Linked DNA regions of Homo sapiens: region 2 is linked to region 1. Evidence: promoter capture Hi-C in 16 types of primary human blood cells and fetal thymus (Javierre and others, 2016). All regions are on one chromosome and are shown on one strand. The core of a region is centred on a gene start or on the middle of the fragment in contact, and the rest is flanking DNA. Distances in the headings are between cores, read along the strand shown. Region 1 holds the start of CNOT10-AS1 (CNOT10 antisense RNA 1). Region 2 overlaps GLB1 (galactosidase beta 1).

Region 1 (5,823 bases), core at 1,672-4,171:
AAGCGATTCCCCTGCTTCAGCCTCTCGAATAGCTGGGACTACAGGCACACGCCACCACACTCAGCTAATTTTTGTATTTTTAGTAGAGATGGGGTTTCACCATATTGGTCAGGCTAGTCTTGAACTCCTGACCTCGTGATCCGCCCACCTCGGCCTCCCAAAGGGCTGGGATTACAGGCATGAGCCACCGCACCCAGCATGTACTAAAGTTCTGTAAGAAGTTGCCTTTGAGAAAACTGGGTAGAGGGTAGATGAGGTCTCTGTATTATTTTTTATTTTTAGAGACAGAGCCTCGATCTGTCATCCTTGCTGGAGTTTGATGGTACAATCACAGCTTACTGCAGCCATGACCTCCAGGGCTTAAAGTGATCCTCCCACCTCAGCCTGCCAGCTACCTGGAACCACAGGCATGCAACATCACGCCCAGATAATTTTTTTTCTTTTTTTCTTTCGAGACGGAGTTTCACTCTTGTTGCCCAGGCTGGAGTGCAACGGCGCGGTCTTGGCTTACTGCAACTTCTGCCTCCTGGGCTCAAGTGATTCTCCAGCCTCAGCCTCCCAAGTAGCTGGAATTACAGGCACCCGCCACCACACCTGGCCAACTTTTGTATTTTTAGGAGAGATGGGGTTTCACCATGTTGGCTAGGCTGATCTCGAACTCCTGACCTCAGCTGATCTGCCTGCCTCTGCAGCCCACCAATGTGCTGGGATCACAGGCATGAGCCACTGCACCTGGCCTAATTTTTTGATTTTTTTAGAGACAGGGTCTCACCATGTTGCCCAGGTATCTGTATTACTTTTTAGACTATTATGTGAATCTACAATCGTCTCTAAATGAAGTTTAATTTTGAAAAAAAAGACACTATGGAGTGAAATAAACAAATAAAACATAACTGTTTGTGGAAGGAAGTCACAGCAGGCTTAAAGGGAACTGTGTAGAAAAGGACCTTTATCTAAAAATCAGTGACCAGCATAAGAAGTTAAAAAAAGAGCAAAATAAACCAGAGTTAGTAGAAGAATAAAATAAAGAGCAGAAACGAAATAGAAAACAGAAAATGAAGTAGAAGTCTATTCTCTGAAAACATCAATCCAATATGTAAATTGCTAGCAGGATTGCTTAGGGAAGAAAGGAGAGAAAGCAAGAGATCCCACAAATATCACAAATGAAAACTGGCCGGGCGCAGTGGCTCATGCCTGTAATCCCAAAACTTTGGGAGGCTGAGGCGGGTGGATCACCTGAGGTCAGGAGTTCGAGACCAGCCTGGCTAACATGGTAAAACCCCGTCTCTACTAAAAACACAAAAATTTAGCCAGGCGTGCTAGCAGGCACCTGTAATCCCAGCTTCTTAGGAAGCTGAGGCAGGAGAATCGCCTGAAACTGGTAGGCAGAGGTTGCAGTGAGCCGAGATCATACCACTGCACTCCACCCTGGGACAGAGAGTAAAACTCCAACTCAAAAAAAAAAAAAAGAAAGAAAATAGAGGTATAACTGCAGATTCTACAGACATTAAAAAGGTAAAAAAAATATTATGAACAATGTTATGCCAATAAATTTGACAACTTAGAAAATTCCTTGAAAAATAAAACTTAACCAAACTGAGATAAGATGAAATACAGGCCGGATGCTGTGGCTCACGCCTGTAAACCCAGCACTTTGGGAGGCCGAGGTGGGTGGATCACGACGTCAGGAGATCGAGACCATCCTGGCTAACACGGTGAAACCCTGTCTCTACTAAAAATACAAAAAATTAGCCCTGTGTGGTGGCAGGCGCCTGTAGTCCCAGCTACTCGGGAGGTTGAGGCAGGAGAATGGTGTGAACCCAGGAGGCGGAGCTTGCAGTGAGCCGAGATCGCGCCACTGCACTCCAGCCTGGGAGACAGAGCGAGAATCCATCTCAAAAAAAAAAAAAAAGAAATATAAAATCTGAAAAAAGTGTTGTTGAACAAGTTGAATTCATTATCAAAAATCTTCCTGCAAAGAAAATCCTAGGCTAGATGGTTTCACTGGTGCATTCTATCAAATACTTAAGGAAGAAGTAATACCTGTCCTTTTTATTAGTTCAGGGCTACATGTGCAGGTTTGTTATATGGTAAACTTGTGTCATGGGGGTTTGTTGTACAGATTATTTTGTCACCCAGGTACTAAGCCTAGTACCCAATAGTTATTTTTTCTGATCCTCTACCACCCTCCACCCTCCAGGAGGCCTTAGCGCCCGTTGTTCCCCTCTTTGTGTCCATGAGTAATACCTATCTTACACAGACTCTTGCAGAAAACAGAGGAAGATGAAGCACTTCTCAACTCATTTATATGGTCAGCATAATCCTGAAACCAAATCTGACAAAATCATTTCTAGGAAAGAAAAGTATGGACCAATCTTCCTCACGGATATAGAAGCACTTATTCCCAACAAAGTATTAACAAATCAAATCTAAAAATTTATACAAAAGAAAATACATTCTGACCAAGTAGGGTTTATCACAAGATTGAAAGATTGGTTTAACATTTGATCAGTGTAATTCATCATATTAACAGTATCAACAAGATAAAAAAGAATGTGTTCTTTTTTTTTTTGAGACAGAGTTGCTCAGGCTAGAGTGCAGTGGCACACTCACTGCAACCTCCGCCTCCCGGGTTCAAGCAATTCTCCTGCCTCAGCCTCCCAAGTAACTGGGATTACAGGCGCCTGCCACCACGCCCGGTTAATTTTTGTATTTTTAGTACAGACAGGGTTTCACTATCTTGGCCAGGCTGGTCTCGAACTCCTGACCTAGTGATCCACCAGCCTCGGCCTCCCAAAGTGCTGGGATTAGAGGTATGAGCCACTGTGCCCAGCCATGAATATGTTCATTTCAATAGATGCAATGCTAATTTTGTTTAGATACTCACTTTAAGTTTTCTAATTCCTGTTTTCTCAATGGAGAAGAAGGTGGAGCTGGAATGAATTTATCTCCATCATGGCTTTTACTGCTAAAATAGAGGTAAGAGTCTTAATTATGAAGAGCAACAAATAAATAATTAAACGTAAAATTTTGTTTCCCTGTCCTTACTCCCAACTTTTTTTTTGAGACAGAGTTTTGCTCGTCGCTCAGGATGGAGTGCAATTGCACGATCTCAACTCACTGCAACCTCTGCCTCCCAGGTTTGAGTGATTCTCCCGCCTCAGCCTCCCAAGTAGCTGGGATTACAGGCGCACACCACCACGCCCAGCTAATTTTTTGTATTTTTAGTAGAAACGGGGTTTCACCATGTTAGCAAGGCTGGTCTCGAACTCCCGACCTCAGGTGATCCACCTGCCTTGGCCTCCCAAAGTGCTAGGATTTACAGAGGTGTCTCACCTCGCCCGGCCTCCCATGTAACTTTTTACAACAAAAGTGTAAAAGAGTTAAACAATGGAAATACTTAGTAATTTGGTAACACTAACATGTTAAAGCTATATTGTATATTAGTTTCTTCCCCCACTGCCCCCACCCCTCCAATACTGCTTTAAAAAATCTCTAACTGAAAACAGTATCTTTACTACAAAAGGGAAATAACTGAATATTTTCGCGCATTTCTCATTATTCTAATTACCCTGACCCCTCAACCCCTGCCTTTTCTTGAGACTGGGTTTTTGAGACTGTTGCCCAGGCTGGAGTGCAGTGTGGCATGATCATAGCTCACTGCAGCTTCAAACTCCTGGGCTCAGGCGATCCTCCTACACCAGCCTCCCAAGTAGCTGGTACTAATGGTGCCTGGCACCACACTCAACTAATTTTTTTATTTCTTGTAGAGATGGGGTCTCATTATGTTGGACAGGCTAGCTTCGAACTCCTAGCTTCAAGCAATCCTTCAGCCTTGGTCTCCCTTAGCACTGGGATTACAGGTGTGAGCCACCATGCCTGGCCCAAATTTTCTATAGTAAATATGTATTGATTGCTATTATAATCAAGAAAAAATGCTGGGATGGGAGATGTAAGTTTAACGATGCCATGTATAAAAAGCAGAATTTCCAGCTGGGTGTAGTGGCTCATGCCTGCAATCTCAGCACTCTGGGAGGCCGAGGAGGGAGGATCACTTGAGGTAAGGAGTTCAAGACCATCCTGGACAACATGGCAAAACCCTATCTCTACTAAAAATACAAAAATTAGCCGGGCATAGTGGCGCTGGGCCTATAATCCCAGCTATTTAGGGGGTTGAGGCAGGAGAATCGCTTGAGCCTGTGAGGTGGAGGTTGCAGTGAGTTGAGATCGTGCCACTGCTTTCCAGCCTGGGTGACAGAGGGAGACTCTGTCTCAAAAACAAACAAACAAACAAAAAACAAAACAAAAAGAAAACAAAAGAAAAGAAAGAAAGAAAAAAGCTGAATTCCCTATATATAATGGTATGTGTTTTGTCCTTACCAAAAGTTCTCCCAATTTCTATAGTCACATAATTTTTATTTACTTATTTTTAATTTTTTTGAAGAGATGGGGTCTTGCTATGCTGCCCAGACTAGACTTGAACTCTTGGCCTCCTCCAGCACCCTGCCTAGATTTGCATAATTTTGAATTTATACTAGAAAACCAGAAATATACAAAAATATTCTGGAGGTTAGTGATTATAGTATATTAAGAGGATAGACAGAGGATAATAAGAAATAAGCAGCTTTAGGAGTCAAGTGTTTATTTTAATAAATTTTCTGTTTTTTTGAGATGGAGTCTCATTCTGTCACCAGGCTGGATGGAGTGCAGTGGCATGATCGTGGCTCACTGCAACCTCTGCCTCCCGGGTTCAAGTAATTCTCTTGCCTCAGCTTTCCCAGTAGTGGGGATTATAGGTGCCCACCACCACGCCCAGCTAATTTTTGTATTTTTAGTAGAGACGGGGTTTCACCATGTTGGCCAGCTGGTCTTGAACTCCTAACCTCAAGTGATCTACCCATCTTGGCCTCCCAAAGTGCTGGGATTACAGGCGTGAGCCCCCACACCTGGCCAAATTTTTTTTAAAGCTGTCTGACAACAGGACTTCTTACAAATATCCCTCTTGTCAATGAAAAGCTGCTACTTTCTTTTTTGAGATGAAGTCTCACTCTGTCGCCAAAGCTGGAGTGCAGTGGCACAATCTCGGCTCGCTGCAACCTCTGCCTCCTGGGTTCAAGCAATTTTCTTGCCTCAGCCTTTTACAGGCAGGCATGAGCCACTGCGTCCGGCCAAAGCTGCTACTTTCTACTTTTCTTTTTCAAGGATCTCTCCTAACTTAGCCTTCACCTTATTTCTCTCTTCCAGAAAGACTCAGAAACATAAATACTTTCCTTTCTTGTTACGCAAAACAGAATTTCAGAAATTCAGGTTGAAGATTTTAGGAATTTACTTAAAGAACAAAGGGTTTACTAAAGAAGTCCTGAAAGGATTTTGCCAAAGGAGGTCACAAGGATTAGAATACCTGCAAGTTTCACTGCTTTCGCTGCTCTCTGTGTTCCCACCTAATTGATTACTATTTTTAGCCCCATTTTCCTGCTTTGGATCTTGCTGTTCTTCAGGTAGCAGCAACAAGGCATTTCTGAGACATATGGCTGCAAACTCCATACTGGCTACAGGAATGGCCGAAGACTGCCCATCACTTAAAAGAACAAAACCAAATTAGCTAAGTGGATAAAATATTTTAAAATAAGGCTCTTTTATTATGAGGAATAAAACCAATTGATTATAAATGAAAGCTATGCCTTTTGATAGGTAGAAATTTTAATATAAGCAGTTATAAAAGCATGCTAAAGAACCCAAATCCTAAGTATAGGTTGTAAATAGTATAAATAATGGATTGCAAGTATATAAATTACATACACTGTGTCTCTAGGAATGAGACCA
Region 2 (5,823 bases), core at 2,057-4,556, 290 kb before region 1:
AGTGAGTCAGCACATTGGGTGAAGGGATGATCCATTATTCATAACTTACCTACTCACGGAAGTAACCAGGAATCATATCAGTATATCCTACTGTACCCATGTAAAGTAAATCCCTACTTTAACTGATTTTTACTTGGGTCCCCAAAATGCCTATAGCAACCTGTAAAACCTCCCAAAGGAAGAGGACATTTGACACAGGGAAGCTGGAACAGAAAGAGACAAGGATCTTAGCTTGTTATGGTCAAATTATATTACTTTTGCAAGTTTTACAAAAACATATGACACTATGAACATGCTGGTGGGATTCCTCCCTTGGGGCACTTCTGGATGCAGCTGCCATGGTAGCCTAGGAATGAGATGACGGCAGGGGCATCAGGGAGTGGAGAGGAAGAAATCAATTTGAAAAACATTTAGGGCTGGGCACAGTGGCTCTTGCCTGTAACCCCAGCACTTTGGGAGGCCAAGGTGGGAGGTTCACTTGAGGCCAGGAAATCAAGGCCAGCTTGGGCAACATAGTGAGACTGTCTCCACAAGAAAATTTAAAAATTTAAATTAGGAAAGAAAAGTGTTCAGGAGGTAAAATTGATAGGATTTGGTGATTGACTGAACACAGATGTGAGAAAGAATGAGGAGTTGTTGATTTTTCCAGGTTAAAACCTTAGTTAGATAACTAGGTGGGTACTGGGATCGGCACCTGAGATAGAGGATTGCAGAGGAGGCCCTGGCAGGGACAGGGGAAGCAAGTTCAATTCTGGGCTTATTCAGCTCAATATTTCCAGGAACATCCAGGTAGACAGATTTCTCCATAAGCACCAACACTTAATAGTAAGACACTCCAGGGAGAAGTCGGAAAGGTTGGCGCAGATTCTGGGGCGATCAGTGCAAATGGAAGCCGAAGTCCAGGGAGAGGTTGAGACTGCACATGGGGAGCTGACTGAGGAGGGCAATGGGCCAAGCAAAAGACAAACCCAGGGGATCCCAAGCTTTAACAACTGGGCAGAGTAAGAGAACCCACAAAGGAGACAGAGTCTTTAGAAATTGCCAGGCTCAGTGGCTCACGTGTGTAATCCCAGCACTTTGGGAGGCCGAGGTGGGTGGATCACCTGAGGTCAGGAGTTCGAGACCAGCCTGGCCAACATGGTGATACTCCATCTCTACTAAAAATTAAAAAATTAGGTGGGCATGATGGCGTATGCCTGTAGTCCCAGCTACTCTGGTGGCTGAGGCAGGAGAATCGCTTGAACCCAGGAGGCAGAGGTTGCAGTGAGCCGAGATCATGCCATTGCACTCCAGCCTGGGTAACAAGAGCAAAACTCTGTCTCAAAAACAAAACAAAACAAAAAAAGAAATGAATGTAATTCAATAGCTTATGATAGATTGCAGCTTAACATGTCATATTTTCCCTCTTTTTTTGATATTTCTGGTTTGAAAGAGAAATTAACTACAAGATTTAGTGGAGATTATATATATATATATATATATATATATATATATATTTTTTTTTTTTTTTTTTTTTTTTTTTTTTGAGACAGAGCCTTGCTCTGTCACCCAGGCAACTTCCACCTCCCTGGTTCAAGTGATTCTCTTGCCTCAGCCTCCCGAGTAGCTGGGATTACAAGCGCACACCAATGCACGTGGCTAATTTTTGTATTTTTAGTAGAGACGGAGTTTCGCCATGTTGGCCAGGCTGGTCTCAAACTCCTGACCTCAAGTGATCCACCCGCCTTGGCCTCCCAAAGTGCTGGGATTACAGGTGTAAGCCACCGCACCCAGCCAGTGGGCTCTTTCTTATGAGACTTTGTAGACATTCCATTAGCTGATTTGTTAAATGATCTTCAAAATATTTGCTTGCATCAAGTAAAGGAAATTGGATGGTAGATATCCCCTGTATATAGCTCTACCTGCCTCCTTCCTTCATCAAAGACTCAAAAAGCGGAATATGTCTCCTCTGTAATCCATTTCAAGAACACATTAGGTGGTGATGGGCAATATATTTCACTGACATGGACTCCTGGGGATAATCTCCCAGCAGGCTGCATAAGCCTGTGCTCAGTGGTGAAGGCCCCCAGGCGGTTGTCTTCATATGAATCTTCAAGGCATGGCAAAGCTCATGACATTTGCATTTTAAAAGGTATTTGCTTTGGTGTGGGTAAAACTCAACCAAACATGGTTAACACTTTGACCTCGAGGATGAACCATAAAAATATAGGGCAGCGACCTCCTCTTCCCTACTGATTCCTGAGAGGGGCAGTGGTGAGTTTATTTTTGTATGCTGTCAAATCAACTTAAGACCCATTTTAAGAGTTTTGTTTCTGTTCTTTATAGGGATTCCATCAACGTAAGAGTTCCGCTGATGTTTTGGAAATGGGTCACTGTAGAAATTAATCAAGTGGTAGTGAGGACCTTGATAATTGGAGTGGATTCTGGGATTCCCAAAGGTAGTAACTGGGCTGAGTGGTGAAGAGGGGATGGGAGAACAGCCACAGTGATTTTTTCTGTACTTCAAAAGCTTAATGAAGTTTGAAATTTGATCCAGGATTTGTCTACACTGGCTGATTGATCATCCTGCACTGTTTATGACTGGAATGACATTGGCTTGATACGCAGACACAGCTGTCTCTTGCTGATGTATAGTGCTGGTGAAAACCAGTGTTTTATGTCTGATGGTTACAGATGAGAAAGGCAATATTACTTAGCAACTGTTAAATAGTCTTTTAAAGTGTCACCTGCTCTCTTGTAGTACTGGTCTCTTCGTTTCCTGTAGAGTTGGCTTTTCTAGTCCCTCTCCCAGAGTGATTTCTCTAAAACACTGATGTGATCGCTTCTCAGTCTTTTGGCTAAGATCAAGTGTAGTATCTAAAACACTGATGTGGTCAGGATACCTTCCATGACTTGGCCCCTATATTTTTCCAGCCTCATCTTTCAATTCTCCCTTCTTAGATGTGACTTCCTGGCCTTAAGTTGGAGCTATATACAATTCCATGAATGAAACAGCACTGTTTATACCTCCTGGTCTCTGCACCCTCTGCCTTTATTCACCTGGAAATGAAGACACACCTCAGTTACCTTATCTGCAGAGTCTTCTTTGACCCACTTGTCAGCCAAGTTAGTCACATTTTGTTTTCTATCACTTATGTTGTAGAAATCTTTTAAACATTACTTTTCTTTTTTTTTTTTTTTCTTAACTTTTAGGTTCATGGGTACATGTGCAAGATTGTTGTGTAGGTTAACTGTGTGTCACAGGGGTTTGGTATACAGATTATTTTGTCACCCAGGTAATAAGCATAGTACCTGATAGGTCATTCTTTGATCCTCTGCCTCCTCCTACCTACCACCCTCAAGTAGGCCCTGATGTCTGTTCCCCTCTTTGTGTCCATGTGTTCTCATCATTTAGCTCCCACTTATAAGTGAGAATGTGCAGTATTTGGTTTTCTGTTCCTGCATTAGTTTGCTTAGGATAATGGCCTCCAGCTCCATCCATGTTGCTGCAAAGGACATGATCTTGTTTCTTTTTTATGGCTGCATAGTATTCCATGGTGTATATATGCCACATTTTCTTTATCCAGTCTACCATTGATTGTCATTTAGGTTGATTCCGTGTCTTTACTAGTGAAAATACTACTTTTTGTGGTGTATTAATATAACTGATTTATACACATTTCTCACTCTCTGGAATAGGTTTATAAGTCTAGTACCAAGCATAGGACCTGACACAGAGTACTTTCTTAATAAGAGTTTGTTGGATGAATGTATGAAAACATTAGAGGTCTTGGTGAAGGAAAAGCTGGTCACCATTGAATCTAGTGGATTCCACAGGGAAAAGAGCAGCTTCCCGTGTTGAATGTGTCCGGTTAAGTATGAGAAGCAACATTTCTGATTGCTCTGAAAAGTATGATTAAAGCACAAATTATTATGGAAAAATAATGGTTTAGAAGTATAGCATTTTGGTATATTTGTTCATTTCTTTTCTGAAACATTAATTAGCTAAGGTAAAGATGAGGATTTTGCTATATGATAATCAAACTAGTATCAATGAAAATCATCAATATTAAAATGAAAAGTTAGAAAATTGTAGTAAATGGGATAGACAGATGAAAGCTTAATATCTGTATTATAATGAGCTAATATCACTGATCAGAATATCAAGATCTACATAGAAAATTGGGTAAATGATGACCAGGCGCAGTGGCTCACGCCTGTAATCCCAGCACTTAGGCCGAGGCGGGCGGATCACCTGAGGTCAGGAGTTTGAGACCAGCCTGACCAACATGGAGAAAACCCGTTTCTACTAAAAATACAAAAAATTAGCCAGGCGTGGTGGTGCATGCCTGTAATCCCAGCTACTCGGGAGGCTGAGGCAGGAGAATCGCTGGAACCTGGGAGGTGGAGGTTGCAGTGAGCCGAGATTGTGCCATTGCACTCCAGCCTGGGCAACAAGAGCGAAACTCCGTATCAAAAAAAAAAAAAAAATTTTTGGGTAAATGACATAAGCAAGTATGGATACTTGATGAAAATGTGAGTATACACTATTTTAAGAGTCTTATACTCATATCCTTTGACCTAGTCACCCCACACTCAGAGTGTTACTTTTAAAAAATAAAAATTTAAAAGGATAATGCTATAGACATGAAGTTTGAGACTCCATCTCAAAAAAACAAAACGAGAAAAAAGAGGCGACATAGGGTAATATGCTAATTGATGGAACTAATAAATAAAGATATAAGGATATTATTTTAAAGGTACAAAGATAACTAGGAGAGAAGCTGAAAATGGTGATATAACCATAATAGCAAGAAAGGAAGATAAACTTTCTTTATCTTCTGGGCTGTACTCTCATGTGTTAAAGAAATCAATGATAAGAAAAAGCAGTACACATATATTACTTAGAGACCAGAAGAAGCAAAAATAGGAACAATTAAATAATCTTAAAATGTGCTGGGCGTGGTAGCTCACACCTGTAATTCCAGCACTTTGGTAGGCCAAGGTGGGAGGATCGCTTGAGTTCAGGAGTTCGAGACCAGGCTAGGCAACATAGTGAGACCCCATTTCTACAAAAATAAAAATAAAAATTAGCAGGTCATGGTGGTGCATGCCTATAGTCCCAGCTACTCAGGAGGCTGAGACAGGAGGATCACTGGAACTCAGGAGGTTGAGGCTGCAGTGAGCCGTGATTGTGCCACTGTACTTCAGCCTGGGCAACAGCCTATCTCAAAACAAAATAATAAAAAATGATAATTTTTAAATGGCTTCCTCTGAAAGAACTAAGAGAAAAGTGAGGCAGGGGACTGTTGCTTTTCACTATAACAGTCTTTTGTCCTCCTCTTTTTATTTATTTTATTTTATATTTTATTTTTTGAGATAGAATCTCACTCTGTCACCCAGGCTGGAGTGCAGTGGTGCAATCTCAGCTCACTGCAACCTCCGCCTCTCAGGTTCAAGCGATTTTCATGTCTCAGCCTCCCAAGTAGCTGAGACTACAGGCATGTGCCACCATGCCTGGCTAATTTTGTATTTTTAGTAGAGATGGGGTTTCACCACGTTGGCCAGGCTGGTCTTGAACTCCTGACCTCAAGTGATCTGCCTGCCTCGGCCTCCCAAAGTGCTGGGAATATAGGCGTGAGCCGGGTGTCACTTTTCTGGCTGGAAACCTCTGTGGCCTGTGGCGCCTTTGCCCGAGTTTTGCTCGGGCCCACTGGGTTCGTTCTGCCCACTCGGCCTGGCAGGCTGCACTCGGTTCATGCTTCCTGCCTGGATCCCATACCTGCCAAGGGCAAGTCAGGCATAAAGCGGCAAGGGGTGTGTGAGCAAGCGTGGGGTTGAGCC

The links. The method cuts DNA at HindIII sites, captures the fragments that hold promoters and counts their contacts. A CHiCAGO score of 5 or more calls a contact.
Region 2: a fragment that was not itself captured here is called in contact with the fragment with the promoter of CNOT10-AS1 in region 1 in 1 of 17 cell types (M1 macrophages); the score reaches 5.2 in M1 macrophages.

The regions. Positions count from the first base shown.
Region 1 is chr3:32,734,555-32,740,377 of GRCh38, reverse strand. It overlaps CNOT10-AS1 (CNOT10 antisense RNA 1), which reads left to right and starts at 2,921. Exons shown (of 2, transcript NR_046718.1): 1 at 2,921-2,979. CNOT10 (CCR4-NOT transcription complex subunit 10) reads right to left here. Exons shown (of 19, transcript NM_015442.3): 12 at 5,402-5,578; 13 at 2,888-2,968. The HindIII fragment of the contact is 21,232 bases long and covers 1-5,823 here.
Region 2 is chr3:33,027,314-33,033,136 of GRCh38, reverse strand. The region is part of intron 10 of GLB1 (galactosidase beta 1); the gene reads left to right. Among named protein-coding and RNA genes, the nearest start is that of GLB1, 67 kb to the left of the region's middle. The HindIII fragment of the contact is 1,589 bases long and covers 2,512-4,100 here.